Regions from separate parts of the Homo sapiens genome. Here region 1 is linked to region 2. The links are contacts of gene promoters, found by promoter capture Hi-C in human tissues and cell types (Jung and others, 2019). All regions are on one chromosome and are shown on one strand. The core of a region is centred on a gene start or on the middle of the fragment in contact, and the rest is flanking DNA. Distances in the headings are between cores, read along the strand shown.

Evidence for each region. The method cuts DNA at HindIII sites, captures the fragments that hold promoters and counts their contacts. A contact is called where the count stands out against the background at its distance.
Region 1: a fragment that was not itself captured here is called in contact with the fragment with the promoter of CDKN2AIPNL in region 2 in 1 of the 25 tissues and cell types used here (mesenchymal stem cells).

What each region holds. Positions count from the first base shown.
Region 1 is chr5:134,443,511-134,450,958 of GRCh38, forward strand. No RefSeq gene overlaps it. Among named protein-coding and RNA genes, the nearest start is that of LINC02999, 12 kb to the left of the region's middle. The HindIII fragment of the contact is 3,414 bases long and covers 2,943-6,356 here.
Region 2 is chr5:134,408,742-134,416,458 of GRCh38, forward strand. CDKN2AIPNL (CDKN2A interacting protein N-terminal like) reads right to left here and starts at 3,140. Exons shown (of 3, transcript NM_080656.3): 1 at 2,875-3,140; 2 at 1,162-1,261. The coding sequence starts at 3,113. RefSeq lists enhancers at 2,532-3,270, 2,794-3,283, 3,271-4,008. The HindIII fragment of the contact is 17,979 bases long and covers 1,700-7,717 here.

The DNA.
Region 1 (7,448 bases), core at 3,400-5,899, 36 kb after region 2:
CAGGAACACACATTTAGTTTTCTGTTAGCAAGAAATCAACTACATTGTAGGAGCCAATATACATTTTGGGATTGCTTGTTACAGCATTGAGCATTACCCTAGCTAATGCAGGGTTTAAGAAAATGCATGGTTGTTCAGATGGTTCAGAGGGGTCTGGGCTGGGGAAACACTCGAGGCCTCTAGGGTCAGAAGGTCTTTGTTAAGGCTGAAGAGCAGAAGTGGTGAGAGGACTGGAAAAATCTAGAAAGCAGATGTCAGGGCCTCTGGCAGAATGCAAGAAACTAAGATTTCAGACAGAAGCTATCCCACTGTGGCAAGAGCCAAATGCGAGAAGTTGGGGAACATTAAGCAGGTCTGGGAATTGTGATGAGTGAGGTCAAGAATTGTGTTGGCTGGTTAGTTCACAGGGATGTCAGAGTCTGTGATGAAGCAGAATGTGAGGTGGAGAGGAAGCCTCAGAGGGGCTGGCCATTGTTCTGCAATCAGGGACCTGGGAAGGACTGCTGTAGTGAAAGGCATGGGCTAGCAGGATTGCCATCACTCAGTCTGTCAGCTGCCATGACTGAGTGGATCTGAGCAGGGCGGTGTACGGATCGCTCAGGAGACCACCTGAGATGCTTACCTGAAGGCTGGTTCCTGAAGTGTCACCTGCAAATGCTGATGTAGGCCAACACTATCCAGAAACAGCCAGACCCACAGCAGAGCACTGCTGTCAGCTGGTAAAGTGTCATGGCACTGCCCAAAGCATCTTATTCACAAATCTGTCTGGGCCTCATGGACATCCCAGGGAGACCCATAAGAGAGTGGCCTCTCCCTGTACCAGGTAAGGTCACCTAAGTGATAAGAGAGACTGCACAGGAGAGGGTGGAGTCAGGGTCTCCTGATCCTTGGGCTGTGGTTCTCATTATAAAATGCCTTTTGCAGACATTTCTGACATAAACTGCCCATCATCTTAGGAAGATTTGGGCATCAACTTGCCATTGGCAGCAGGGACAACTGAGACAGCCTCCAAAAGGCACTTCCAGCTGGCGACTCTTAGAAGAATTTCTGAATGAATGGTGCCAAACCAGGAATAGGAATAGGAGTGTCAGAAAACCCAAAATAATAGTTATGAAAACAAGAGGAGTTTATTTCAAAAAAAAAAAAAAAAAAAAACCAGATGAGGTTGGAGGTAGGTGTCAAGGGTTGCTAGGCCCTCCACTGTTTCAGAAGGCCAAAGTTCCTTCTGTTTTATTGTTCTCCTCTATTGTTGAGTAACAAATTACTTCAAAATGCAGTGGCTTAAAACAACTGTAAACATCTATTATCTCGCACTTTCCGTGGTCAGGATTTGAGACTTAGCTGGGTGGTTCTGGCTCAAGCTGTCTCATGAGGTTGCAGTTGGGATGTCAGATGAAGCTGTGGTCATCTGAAGGGGTGACTGGACCACCACATTGCTGGCAAGTTAACCCTGGCTATTTGCAGCAAGCCTCGGTCTCTCACTGCCCCTAATCCTTCATTGGGTTGCTTGAGTGGGCTTCTGCTAGCCTAGAACGAGTGATACAGTGAGGGCAAGGCATACACTGCAATGTCTTTTATGATGTCATCTCAGAAGTCACTTACTATCATTTCTGCAATACCCTGTTGGTTACATGGATCAGCCCTATTGCATACAGGAGAGAACTGAATAAGGACATGAATCACTGGGGGCCATCTCAGAAGCTAGCTACCACATCTGCCATCCTCAAAGCATGTGGCTTCATCCTCATGTCCCAAGATGGCTGCTCGAACTCCGGCAATCACATCACAGACAGTGCATTGCAGCTAGTGGGAAGAAGGAGGAAAGGAAGCAGCGTGTGATTTCCTGAAGTTGGATGTACCATTCTATTTTAGTCTCACTGGTCAGAACTTAGTCATATATTGATAACTGCAAAGGGGGCTAGGAAATTTAGTATTTATTTTGGGTGGCCATGTGTTCAGCTAGACCAGATATTGGGGATAACTGGCCATCTCTGCCACATCAGCAGTGTTCCCGTGTGTATCACACAGGATGAGGTCTGAGGGAGGAAGCACAGAGAACATTACTACCTTGGGTTACTGACCTGGCAAATGACTTACAACCCATTTTGTCTGGGAAATACATGTGTGTGTGCGTGTGCGTGTGTGTGTGTGATGGGGATGGGGAGGAGTGCAAACTGTGCTTCACCCCGTAATTAGTGAATCTCACTTTAAAAAGAAAATAGTCCTTAGAGAAGCTTAGGAGACAAATAAGTGTAAACAACAGACCCAGTCCTAGAAGCCCAGCCAAGGGTGCTCTTAAAAATTAAGAAGCTCCAGAAGATGAAAGATCATCACAGGAGGCATAGTGAGGGCAGCCTCATTCTATCCCTAGACCTGCAGGTTTAAGTAAATTCCAGGCAGCCTGATTTACTGATCCAAATGCAGAAACACAGATGGGCGCCTCCACCAGCTGTGTTTTTAAAAGATCATATGATTCCTGATCAATGAACCAAAGAGACTGAATGCAGAAGTATTTAGCGCTGAGCTGAGGATTTGCCCAGAGACCTCTCAGAGAGCAGAGCCAAATCTTGAGCAGCCAGCTGAGTGCTGACTCAAGCTGGGGATGGGGGTAAGGAGGGTGGTATTGGGCGGCAGAGGCCTAGCTGAGTAGAAGATGAGCCATCAGTCAGCCAGAGAACTCTAAGGTGAGAAAAGTCCACAGGAAGAAAATCTGCCCTGGCAGAAGGAAGACAAGGCTCTGGCTTGGTCAACTGGCCAGTGACGGGGTACTGTGATCCTAGAGGAATGCGAAGTCTGGAGCAAGAAGCCTGGGGCTAGGGCATCCGAAAGGACAGCAGGTACTGCCAAGTTCCTTCTGGCAGGAGTTTGCTTTCTCCTTTCTGCCACATTCTGCCTGGACAGTGGAACCTTATCTTGGGCTGTGTGTGGACTAAGGACTCAGTGGTACTTGCGGCATGGAGGGTGGCTGGGGACCTCCCACCTGCCTGGCTGGTCCTACTCTCTGCCCATGGTTGGGGGTGTTGGCCCAAGTTGGATGAAGTCCTGTGTCCTGCATCCCTACTTGGCCATCTCCAGATGGGGCTGTCAGGACACCCTGGGCAGCTAGCGTGTTCACTCACTCAGGCCACAAGCCATGCTCCTTATTGCACATGGTCATCAGTCATCACTGCATTCTTGCTGTACAAGAGTCAATTTCCAGTGCAGTAAGGGGATCACCAGAATTCCCAGCCTTCCCATTGTGCCTTGGCCTGAATCTCAAGTTTACCAACAAGGCCTTGGAGGACCTCTGCAGACCCTAGTTTGAAGGCCCTTTCATGAGAGACACCTCCAGGCATGGTTGAGGTCAGGCCCCACCTTGGGCAGAGAAGGATGCAGGGAGTAGTGAGGAGGGAAAAATCAGCCCAAAGGGCATGGAATTGGCTCAGGCAGCCTGAGACTGTTTCGTGGCTCTGTTGCAGCAGTGTGTATTGAGCTCAATGGGGAAGACACTGGGCTATACCCTGGGGACACAGAGGGGAGGGCTCCTATGACATCACCCCGGACACATAAATAAAGCAAAGCAGCAGAGGGTGCAATATGCAGTGATGGGTTAAGGACAAGGTCCAGAAAGAATGTGGGAGGGGAGTTTGCTGGCAGAGTAGTAAAGGAAAGCTTCACAGAGGAGGTGACACCTGCAAGAAAGAACAGGAGGAGGAGGGGCAAATCAGGGAGAGGGAAGGGCAGGCTCAGAGTCCTGAGCTGGGCAACCACCTGGGGTAGAAATAAGGGAATCTCACCTGATGTGTTGACTGTGCTCTGAAATTTCTGGGCTCCTTCAGGGTGGAGTGTAGCCTTGATCTCTCTCCGCTAACTCAGAAGAGTCAGGGGAGTGGAGAAGATGCTCCCTCTGCAAGATTTGTTGCATTTCCTTTTATATTTGGGTCTTTGGTACCTGACCATGATGGTGAAGTTATCATAAATTAAGAAAGAAGAGGGGCCAGGTGAGGTGGCTCATGCCTGTAATCGCAGCCCTTTGGTAGGCTGAGCTAGGAGGATTGCTTGAGGCCAGGAGTTCAAAATCAGTGTGGGCAACATAACGAGACCCTGTCTCTACAAAAAATGAAAAAGAAAAAAGAAATAGCTGGTGTACACCTATAGTCCTAACTACTCAGGAGGTTGAGGCTGGAGAATCACTCAAGCCCAGGAATTCAAGGTTGCAGTTAGCCATGACTGCACCACTGCACTCCAGCCTGGGTGAAAGAGCAAGACCGTGTCTCCAAAAAAAAAGAGAGTGAAATTTCTTTGGTCTAGGAGAATCTGCCCAAGCCCCTCATTCCTTTTCCATGTAGGTTTCCAAGTGATTCTGGATGGACCGTTAGGCCTGATTGTCCCCAGAAGCCTCGGATGGGGCAGGAGGCAGGGCTGGGAGGCACACTGGGTGGGGCACTCTGCAACTCTCTCCACTGTTAGATACAGTCCCCTGAGGTCTCAGAGCTTCTCCAGAACCCAGGGGAACCCCCAGCGCCACCAAAGCACCCACCTTGCCTCTTGCAACAGGCCTTATAGCATGAGAAGAGTGATGTGGCTCATGCTGGCACATCATGTATGACCCCAGTCACAGTTTTTGTGGTGTGCAAACTTGCCTTTCCTCCAGGCCCCAGGAAAATGTGAAATGCAAATAAATCACCACGCAAATCTAAAACAAACATCAGCTCCAGAGCTGTTTTATGAAGGCAGAAGGAATCGCAGGCCCTGAGTGGTCCAGCAGGCCCCACTCTCTCTGGGTCATGGTGGGCAGGTGGGCCCAAGCCAGAGCCATGCTGGGATGGCACCCTGTCTCCAGCTACAGGTGGCCCAGGAACCTCAGGCATGGAGCTGCCAGTGCCCAGAAAGGCTACAGGAGAATTTACGGCGCAGATGGAGAATGGGGCCTGCCCTTAGTATCTAGTCCCTGGACAGCCCATCTCTTTCACCCAGGAATCTCTGTCTCCTGGTTGTTGCTCTTCTCACTGGGATGTGCAAATAACCTCCTGGCAGCCTTGGTCTCTCTCTTACCTCTGTCAGTTCCAGTCCGAAGGCCTAGCTCAGGTCACATCCCTCTGACTCAGATACACTTTAATTACAAACTCCTCAGTCTGTCATTTAAGGCTTCACCCACTACGGTACCAATTCACCACTCACCAGTCCTTCAGATCATCATCCCCCAGCCATGTATGTGCCCATCCTTTTTATAGTCTCCCTGCAAAGCTCTCCCATCTTCAGGTCCTGGATCTTGCCTTTACCTGGTCCCAAAGCCCCCTTATGGGGGCATTTGCTGTGATGCTTGGCCCACCTGATCAGGCCCCGCTTTAACACTGTCTCACCTATCAAGTCTTCCTTGACATTCTCTGCCCCCTGAACCTATGGCCTAAGGGATGGAGCTTTTTACTAGATTTGCATCTTTAATTATAGGAGTGATACATGCTTGTAAAAACATTCCCACATTACAGAAGCATACACAGTAAAATGAGTGTGTGTCATCCCAACTCTCCATTCCCTAGAACTCACTCCAGTTAACAGCTAAACCTACACACAGACCCTTGTTTTACCAGCATGGGAGGGGCCCTTGGGGACCTTCCGTAACTACTTAAGCTAGCAGTAGCAGAGTAGCGGTGAGGGGTGAGCAGACTTGGTGAAGGTTTTGGAGAGCGGTGACCTGGGTTGACTCAGAAAGAAAATCCTCAAGGTTGGTCTGTGGGACCCCTTAATTTCTTTTACAAGTCAGTTCAAAGAACAGAGCCCCAGGGAGACATTCCTAGTTGTGTGGGAATAGTCATTCTGTTCTCCCAAGAGCCAGAAACTCAAGTTCAAAAGGCAACCAGGTCTCTAAAGAATTCCCTTGGCCTAGCACAACCTGTCACTGCAAGCCCAGGTGGAGCTGAAGTCTGGCAGTCTTAATGGGGTGGTCACTCAGTCAGATGGAGAGAGTCAGAGCTAGAACCTAGGCCTTTTCTTCTCCAGCCTGGGCCCTTGCCTGTGCCCTGCGGGCCCCTGCCTGTGCCCTGTGGGCCCCTATGTTCTGGCTGGTCATCCTGGAGTACCCCTACCACCAAACAACAGAGACCCCTGTGTGCCCTGCTGGCAAAGCAGTGATTCTCTTTACAGTGTGGCCCAGAGAAGAGTCCACCTTCAGAAATAAATGACCCTGCCCTCCTTAGAATAGGATCTAAGTGAAGAACAGGGCTGTGCAGGCATCTCCTTCATGAGGGACTCCAGCCCATGTTACTAGGGAGTGTGAGGGGCAGGGGACACATGCCTTCCCCAGATAACCTGAGGGACTACATCCCTCCTCCACACTCCAAGTCAAATATTTATTGAGGCAAGAGAAGAGACTGGAGTGCTCCAAGTTGGGAAGACCTAACCCCAACTTGGAGATGTGATGGAAGGCTCTCCCAAGATGTCAGTATCTAAACTTACACTTGAAAGATAAGCAAAAGCCGGGTGCAGTGGCTCACGCCTGTAATCCCAGCACTTTGGGAGGCCGAGGCAGGAGGATCACCTGAGGTCAGGAGTTTGAGACCAACCTGGCCAACATGGTGAAACCCCGTCTCCACTAAAAATATAAAAATTAGCTGGGCGTGGTGGCGCATGCCTGTTATCCCAGCTACTGGGGAGGCTGAGGCAGGAGAATCGCTTGAACCCAGGAAGCAGAGGTTGCGGTGAGCTGAGATCGCGCCATTGCACTCCAGCCTGGGCAACAGAGTGAGACTCCATCTAAAAATAAAATAAAATAAAATAAAGATAAGTAAGAAGTGGCCAGGTAAAGCATTCCTTGCAGAGGGAACACCATCGGCAAAGGTCTGAAGGTGAGAGGAAACATTACTTTGGAGAAACTGAAACTTCACTGTGGCCGAACCTAGTGTGTAAGGGGGATGTAGTGGGCAGTGGTTGGAGAAGTCAACTGCCTGCATGTGCAAACCCTTCTCTGTCAGCCCAGAAGGCCAGGGCTTTGTCCCCATGGCCAAGCAGAGTCAAGGAAGGGTTAAGCAGGGGGGTGACATTTTAGACAGACTGAGATTGCCACATAGACCACGAGCTGGAGGTGATAAGTTTAGAGGAAGTGAATGTCTTTGGGTGAGCAGTATGGTGGCCTGGACTAGGGTAGACATAGTGGAATATAGAGAAGAAGTGGAATTCAACACAGCATGGGGGGAGGTGAGGGAGAGGAAGGCAACCCTGGCTTTGTTGTTGGGGATATAAATCCCAGGCCCACAGTTGAATTTAGCAAACAGTTGCTAACTGGTTTGGGCTCACAGAGTGGGGAGCTGGGGGTCCCCACGTTGTTTCACAGGTGAAAAATTGAAGGCCAGTAGCAAGTGAGAAGCCCTGACCTGCCATCTAACCTGCTGACATCAGTAAAAACCTGACTTGGCACCCAAATCTTGATTTGGCCAGGAGGCTGCTTGATACCTTAATCCTGGCACAATGGC
Region 2 (7,717 bases), core at 1,890-4,389:
TTTTGTCAGGAGTACTGTGTTGAGGTAACAGCTGATTTTAAAACATAATAGCATCTCGAAAACCAACCTGAAGCTTTTCCCCAGGTTCAGATTAAAACTAAAAGAATACTTTTTTAAGAAAAACAAACCATCCTGAAAATCAAGTGGGGTGTACTATTTGGGACTGAAATACTTTATGAGCAACTGAGAATCTGATTAGTTCCTTGACACCCATATGGAAGAGGACCTCTATATGTGCCCCACCTCCCAAGACAAGACCTAAATGTGGAGGAATGGGCTTACCTATGTTTCTAAGGGCAGACCTAAAAAGGGGCCAGCAGCTTTTTACTCTACTGCTTCAGTCGATTTTATAAGTATTTTCTGAGTACCTTCTCTGGGGTATAAGTATACTAGGTTTGGGAGTTGTAAAGACTAAATAGAACTTTAGACACCATCTGTAAGGTCACAACTGCTTTAAAAGAGCCCTGGATAAAGTGCCAAAGGAACTTCAGAAGATAAGCGAGCAATTAATTCTGCTGCCTGAGCAGACAAATGTGAAACAAGCATGTTTTGGAGGTGATTCTGAAAAGTATTAATAGCTGGGATGCCCAGCTCCATATTCTGAGGTTCTTTCTGCCACATTCTGTAGCCCCAGCTCCAGTGTCCAGATTCAAGACTCTAGGCAAGACTCACTGTAAAAAGCCCATCGCCTGAGATCAGACCCCAAAGGGTAGAGAACAGCTATGCCATCGACATTGCTCCAGGCACGTTCTTATCAGCAAATCACAGAAGCCAAACAAGTCAGGTCGGCACTCACACCGGCACTCACACCTGGGGTAAGGATGAGTCTTACCAATGAGATTTTTTAACAAGTAGGAAACTTAAGTATTCTAGCCAACATCTTTTTAAACATCAAGCAAAAATCTCAAAACAATGTTCCTAAACAACCGGAAGAGGTTAAGCTTATGTGTTACCTCATCAACAATGCATAATTTACCACAGTGAGTTGTCAACTATTTATGAAAAGGCTTATACCAATTATGGGGAAATAAAAATGAAAGGGTATAGGTCTTTGGGGCAGTAAAGAGCATTCAAAAACAATATACTCTAATATAGTGTCATCAAGGCAGGGACTGTTAACTCTACACCATTTCATCACATGCACTTGGAAATCCTATTTACCTTTTTCATTAATTCACTTCTGGTAGTAAATTGTGGCAGGTCTTCCACTTCAATCCCATCGGCCATTTCCATCACCTTGTCTAAAAGGTCTTTATTGTAACTGCACAATAAAAAGTAGTAAGGTAAAAACCTTGGAACAATTGTCACTGTGGATTAATAAGAAACTGCAGGTTGCTCAACTATAAAATCAGCTCTCAGAGAACTGACCTGATACTGCAGGGCAAACCTATACATGTTCCCCACAAGGTTTTGAGATGGAGTCTTGCTCTGTCCCCCAGGTTGGAGTGCAGTGGTGTGATCTCGGCTCACTGCAACCTCCACCTCCCAGGTTCAAGCAATTCTCCTGCCTCAGCCTCCCGAGTAGCTGGGATTACAGGCGTGTGCCACCACGCCTGGCTAATTTTTTATTTTTAGTAGAGACAGGGTTTCACCATGTTGGCCAGGCTGGTCTCCAACTCCTGACCTCAAGTGATCCTCCTCCCAAAGTGCTAGGATTACTGGCGTGAGACACCGTGCCTGGCCCTGTGAACACTTCTTGCTTGTAGATACAGAAGTGGACTTCAGAAATACCAGTACAGCAGATGTTTCAAGATTTAGAAGAACAGAGGCACTGTACATCCAGCAACAGATATTCTCAGATACAGGATGAGGACCAAAATATTTTTATTTTTTAAATACATGGAATGTTAGTCTAACAAAAACATTATTTATTTCCCCAATTCTCTGACATTTGCCTAACCATGGAAAACCAGGATTTCCCAGGAGCACCTAGAAGGCAGGGAAAAGGGACGGGTGCCTCTGGCATTGCTTCCCTACGTACTGTTCTAATAAACCCCAATATGTGAAGCAAAACCAAGTGGCTTAGGCCTGCAGGGGCCAAATGACCAGAGTCAGGCAGCCATAATAGGTATAGAAACCAAGATCAAACCAAGTCACCCTATTTTCCTAACACAATTTCAGGAAAATCGAAGCTCTCTAATAGGGAGTCTCAAGATTTGCCACCTTCCTCATGGAGGGGTGAAAGGAATGCCTTATCAGGCACTTCAAAAGCGGGCCTTTGTCCTTTTGGTGCTGCAGCCAGGATGAAGTGGGCTTTGAGACCTTCACAAAAAGGCATCGGCCATTTTCATAAGAGGGAAAGCAGAGAGGTGAAGCTGGTTCCTACTTAGGACCCCGTGGGCTGTGGAGTGAGGAGAAAAAGCCATAGGATACAGATTACATCCTCTCATTAGTGATTAAAATCCATCAATCCTGCCAGAAGCTGCATGGCCCCAGGTATATCACTTCTCTCCCTAAGCTTTTTCATCTGTAAAATGGGGATCTCCGTTTCTCTCTCTGCACGTTTGCCATGTAGGTGACAGGGGCTAACGGACTTCGAATGCATACTGCAAAGGTGATGGTTTGAGCTAATAATAATAGTAATACAAATAACAATAGCAACCTTTGAACCCGCCATGTATTTAGCTCTTCACCCTTTAATTATTACAGCCATCATAACCACCCTTTTACCAGAAGAGAAAACTGAGGCTCAAAGATAAGGATCTTTCCAAGGGGCCTCCAGGGTGGGAATCAGTCTTCGGGCCGACCAATGCGGATGGAGGTTGGGCCCGGGTTCAGTCTGGGGCAGAGGTTCGGGTCAGGGGTGAGCCCTGGGAGAGGCCTTGAGGGTCGGAAGATAGGGGACAGGATCAGCCGGCCGGCAGGGGTCCGCACCTGCAGCCTAGGAAGAGATGGTTGGCCCAGACCATGGAGAGGGAGAGCAGCTGGTCCAGGCGGCCACTGCCGTCGGGCGGGTCGCGGTAGTCGGGCAGGTGGCGCAGGATGAATTCCATGCGGGCCTTCCATTGCTTCTCGCTCTCTGAGTAGGAGCGGAACTGCTCCGCGAAGTCGGCCGCCTGCCGCACCCCCGAAACCAGCTCCTCCACTGCGGCAGCCGCCTCGCCACCGACCATGGTGCCCGCCGCAGCCGAGGACCGGATAGCCCGCCGCCTTCCCGACGCGCACTGCGCCACCGCCTGCCGGCCAGAGGGGCCCCATCAGCGCACGACTGCTCCAGAAGACCAACCTGGAGCGCCCTCGCCCGGAGCGGCGGCCTGCGGGGGCACAGAGCGGCTCCTGGCTCCTCAGACCGCCGCAGCCCGTGGCTCCTGCCCTGGGTCTACCCAGGGCTACAAGGGTCTTTTGCGGTCGACCCTGCGGGGAACCGGTGGGAAAACTGAGGTCCCTAAACACAGATTCGGAGCGCCCTCTTCCAGTTGGCAGCTGGATGCCAGCCAGAGCTATGCTGTGCCCTTGCCCTGAGAGTTTCCCGGGCACCGCCTCATCCTGAGCGACATCAGGGGGCCCGGGTCACGGTCGACTTCCAGGGGTCTCCACAGCCACGAAGGTTGGGGCCCGCCTTCCTGGAGCGAGTAATCCATCCATCCCGTGAATACTTGCCAGGCACATTGCTAGGTGCTGGAGAGGCAATGAGAGCACATTCGGAGCCCTGCTCGCCTGAACTTTACCATGGAGTGGAGGAGTGGACATTAGTGACATAATTGCTCAAGTAAATGGAGAATTTCAGCGTTGACAAGTATTAGTAAAGAGAAGTTCAGCGTGCTACAACCATGAATAAGCAAGGGACCCAATCTAGTCTTGGGGTCAGGGAAGTGATCCTGGAGAAGTGAAGAATGAGCAGTTTTCTGAGTAAAGGGGAGTCGGTCAAAGCAAGAGAGAGCATGGCCTGGTAAGAGAATTGCAAGATAGGGGGTAGGAGGGGTTGGGGGGCGGGGCAGGGCAGGTAGAGAATGGAGAAGATGAAGTTGCAGAGGTCAGCAAGGCCAGTAGGCCAGGCAGGGATCCTGGCTAGATCCCAAGAATGGGGAGCCGCTGAAGGATTTTAACCAGAACAGTGACACCTGTGTTTACAAAAGATGCTGGAAGGAGCCAGAAACAATGTGTCCAGAGGAAATGAGCAAGTTTGGACTTGGTTTTAAATAGAGACAGGGTTTCGCCATGTTGCCCAGGCTGGTCTCGAACTCCTGAGCTCAAGTGATCCGTCTCCCTCAGCCTCCCAAAATGCTGGGATTACAGGTATGAGCCATCGTAACTGGCTGGACCTGAAAGTTTTTATTTAGCTGGCATGACTCTGCTGTCTGTTCGAGTCTCAGGTAGCAGACACACTGAGAGAAAAAAGAGCTTCCTTTTAAGTGGTGAATTTTCCATCCCTGGAAGCATTCAACTACAGTAACTGGGTGTTGGGGCTCAGAAACCAACACCCCAAAATGTATTTTGACATGCTGAACTGATGAAGAAGCCTCAAGGTCTCTGTGACCTCCGCCACCAACACACACTCCTGTCTGTCAATTCTTTGTTCCTCCCAAAGCACAAGATGAAGTTGTTCCCTTATCTGCCTAAATTTAGTCCAGAACGCCAAAGGAAACAATTATCTCTGGTTCCCTCCCTGAGTTTTCATTAAGTGAATTTGTTTTGCAGGAGGAAAGACTGAAGTATGGTCAACACACTAGGACAGACTTTTGTCACAAACCCTTGTCTCCTCTGCAGGCCCAACAGACTTTGTCCCAGGCCATTGCATGTTCTTCAAGCCCATTGAATTACCCTAAAAATCATTTACTACCCATCTAAAATATTCACACTCTGGATGATGGGGTAATCACTCTGTGATTAACTATGCACATTAATAAACTTGTATGTCTTTTCTCTTTTTTTTTTTTTTTTGAGAGCAAATTTCACTCTTTTTGCCCAGGCTGGAGTGCAATGGTGTGATCTCTGCTCACCGCAACTTCTGCCTCCCAGGTTCAAGTGATTCTCCTGCCTCAGCCTCCTGAGTAGCTGGGATTACAGGCACCTGACATCACGCCCGGCTAATTTTGTATCTTTAGTAGAAACGGGGTTTCACCATGTTGACCAGGCTGGTCTCGAACCCCTGATCTCAGGTGGTCCAAGCTCCTCGGCCTCCCAAAATGATGGGATTATAGGCGTGAGCCACAGTGCCTGGCTGCCTTTTCTCCTCTTAATCTGCCTTTTGTCAATTGATTTTCACTAACCTTCAGAGAGCAAAGGAAAGTTTTCCCTTCACACAAAGAGTCACTTGAGCCTTCACCAGCTTTGAGAGATTATTGACCTAATAGGCTTCCCCATTGCCCCCAGTCAAATGTGAGGTTGGGGTACAGAGGTGAGCCTAGAATCCACGATCTAGGGCTCCAGTGCAGGTCCTGTATTGTGAGTGTGGCCTGTGGGGAGAGCTGATTACATCCTGTCTGCTGCTTCTGCAGCTTCTTTTGGGGCATCAGGGTCCCCAGAAATCAGAGACTCAACAAAGCATGGAAATACAGGGCAGTCCGCATAGAATGAACCTGAAGACCCAGCACCAAGCTCAGTGATATGGCATAATGGTTAACAACAGGGAGGCATGATATTCATGCAAATGTGGGCAAGCAAAGTGTCAACAGGCCTGTGAGACCAAAGACAGAGTTAGCTACTCCCAGCAATCAGGAATTGGTGCACAGACCTAAAAGTCCCAAAAGTGAGTGCAGATCCCACGTCCTGAGAGGCTCGTTAAAATGACAGACTCCCCCAGGCTCACCATTGGATGTTCAGATTCAAGGCCCCAGGTAATTCTGCTTCCACCTGCCGCTGACCAAACTTAGAAAAACTCAAAGTTAGACTGGGAGTGGTGGCTCATGCCTGCAATCCCAGCACTTTGGGAGGCCGAGGCGGGCAGATCACGAGGTCAGGAGATCGAGACCATCCTGGCTAACACGGTGAAACCCCGTCTCTACTAAAAATACAAAAAATAACCAGGCGTGGTGGTGGGCACCTGTAATCCCAGCTGCTTGGGAGGCTGAGGCAGGAGAATGGCGTGAACCCAGGAGGCAGAGGTTGCAGTGAGCTGAGATCGCACCAATGCACTCCAGCCTGGGTGACAGAGTGAGACTCCGTCTCAAAAAAAGAAAAACTCAAAGTTGTTGAGGGTTCTCTGAGCTAAAGTCTTGGTCACCTGATTGTATAGTACAGAGGTTAGCTCAGAAAGTCTTGGTCACCTGATTGTATAGTACAGAGGTTAGCTCAGAAATAGGAACCCAGGCTCTGCAAATAGCAGCTGCAGTTACACAGCCAATCCTGCCTATGGGGTGTGAAAAAGCTAAAGGTCATGCAGCAACTACCTTATTTAGCATATCTGTGACAATTATGGAGCATATGCATATACATAACATACGGACGAACATATTCAGACATGCATACAATTGTAAACCCAAAAGTGCACAAATAGGTATTCTTTTTTTTTTTTTTAATACAGAATCTTGCTCTGCCATACAGGCTGGAGTGCAGTGCCACATCATGGCTGACTGCAGCCTTGACCTCCCAGGTTCAAGAAATCCTCCCACCTCAGCCTCCATGAGTAGCTGGGACTACAGGTGTGTGCCACAATGCCTGGCTAATTTTTAAGTTTTTCATAGAGTTGGGATCTTGCTATGTTATCCAGGCTGGTCTCAAACTCCCGGGCTCAAGTGATCCTCTTGCCTCAGCCTCCCAAGGTGCTAGGATTACAGGCATGAGCCACTACACCTGGCCAGGTATTCTTTCTTTAAAAAAAAATTGTGATGTTGTTAACATTATGCTTTCAAAATGCTAAGCAGTATAAAATATTGGCCAGGCACAGTGGCTCACAGGCCTGTAATCCCAGCACTTTGGGAGGCTGAGGCAGGCGGATCACCTGAGGTCAGGAGTTCGAGACCAGCTTGGCCAACATAGCGAAACCCTGTCTCTACTAAAAATACAAAATTAGCCAGGTGTGGTAGCACGTACCTGTAATCCCAGCTACTCAGGAGGCTGAGGCAGAAGAATCGCTTGAACCTGAGAGGCAGAGGTTCCAGTGAGCTGAGATCGCACGATTGCACTGTAGCCTGGGCAACAGAGCAAGACTGTCTCAAAAAAAAAAATTGTTAATGGCCACACACAGTGAGACCCTCATCTCTACAAACAATTACAAAATTAGCTGGGCATGGTGGTATACACCTATAGTTCCAGCTGCTTGGGAGGCTGAAACAGGATGATCGGTTGAGCCCAGGAGTTCAAAGCTGCAGTGAGCTATAGTAGCAACACTGCATTTCTGCCTGGGAGACAGAGAAAGACCTTGTCTCAAAAACAAACAAACAAAAAAGTTAATAATTAACACTTCACAGAACAATGTGGCAAGTCCAGTTATTGACCAGTTTGTTGTTTCTAACTTTTTTTCATGATTCAGACTTTTTTTTTTGAGACAGATTCTCACTCTGTTGCCCAGGCTGTAGTGCAGTGGCGTGATCTCAGCTCACTGCAACCTCCGCCTCCCAGGTTCAAGCGATTCCCGTGCCTCAGCATTCCAAGTAGCTGGGACTACAGGGACTTGCCAGCACGCCTGGCTAATTTTTGTATTTTTAGTAGAGACGGGGGTTTCACCGTGTTAGCCAGACTGGTCTCGAATTCCTGACCTCGGGTGATCTTCCCGCCTCAGCCTCCCAAAGTGCTGGGATTATAGGTGTGAGCCACCGTGCCCAGCTGTGTTTAACTT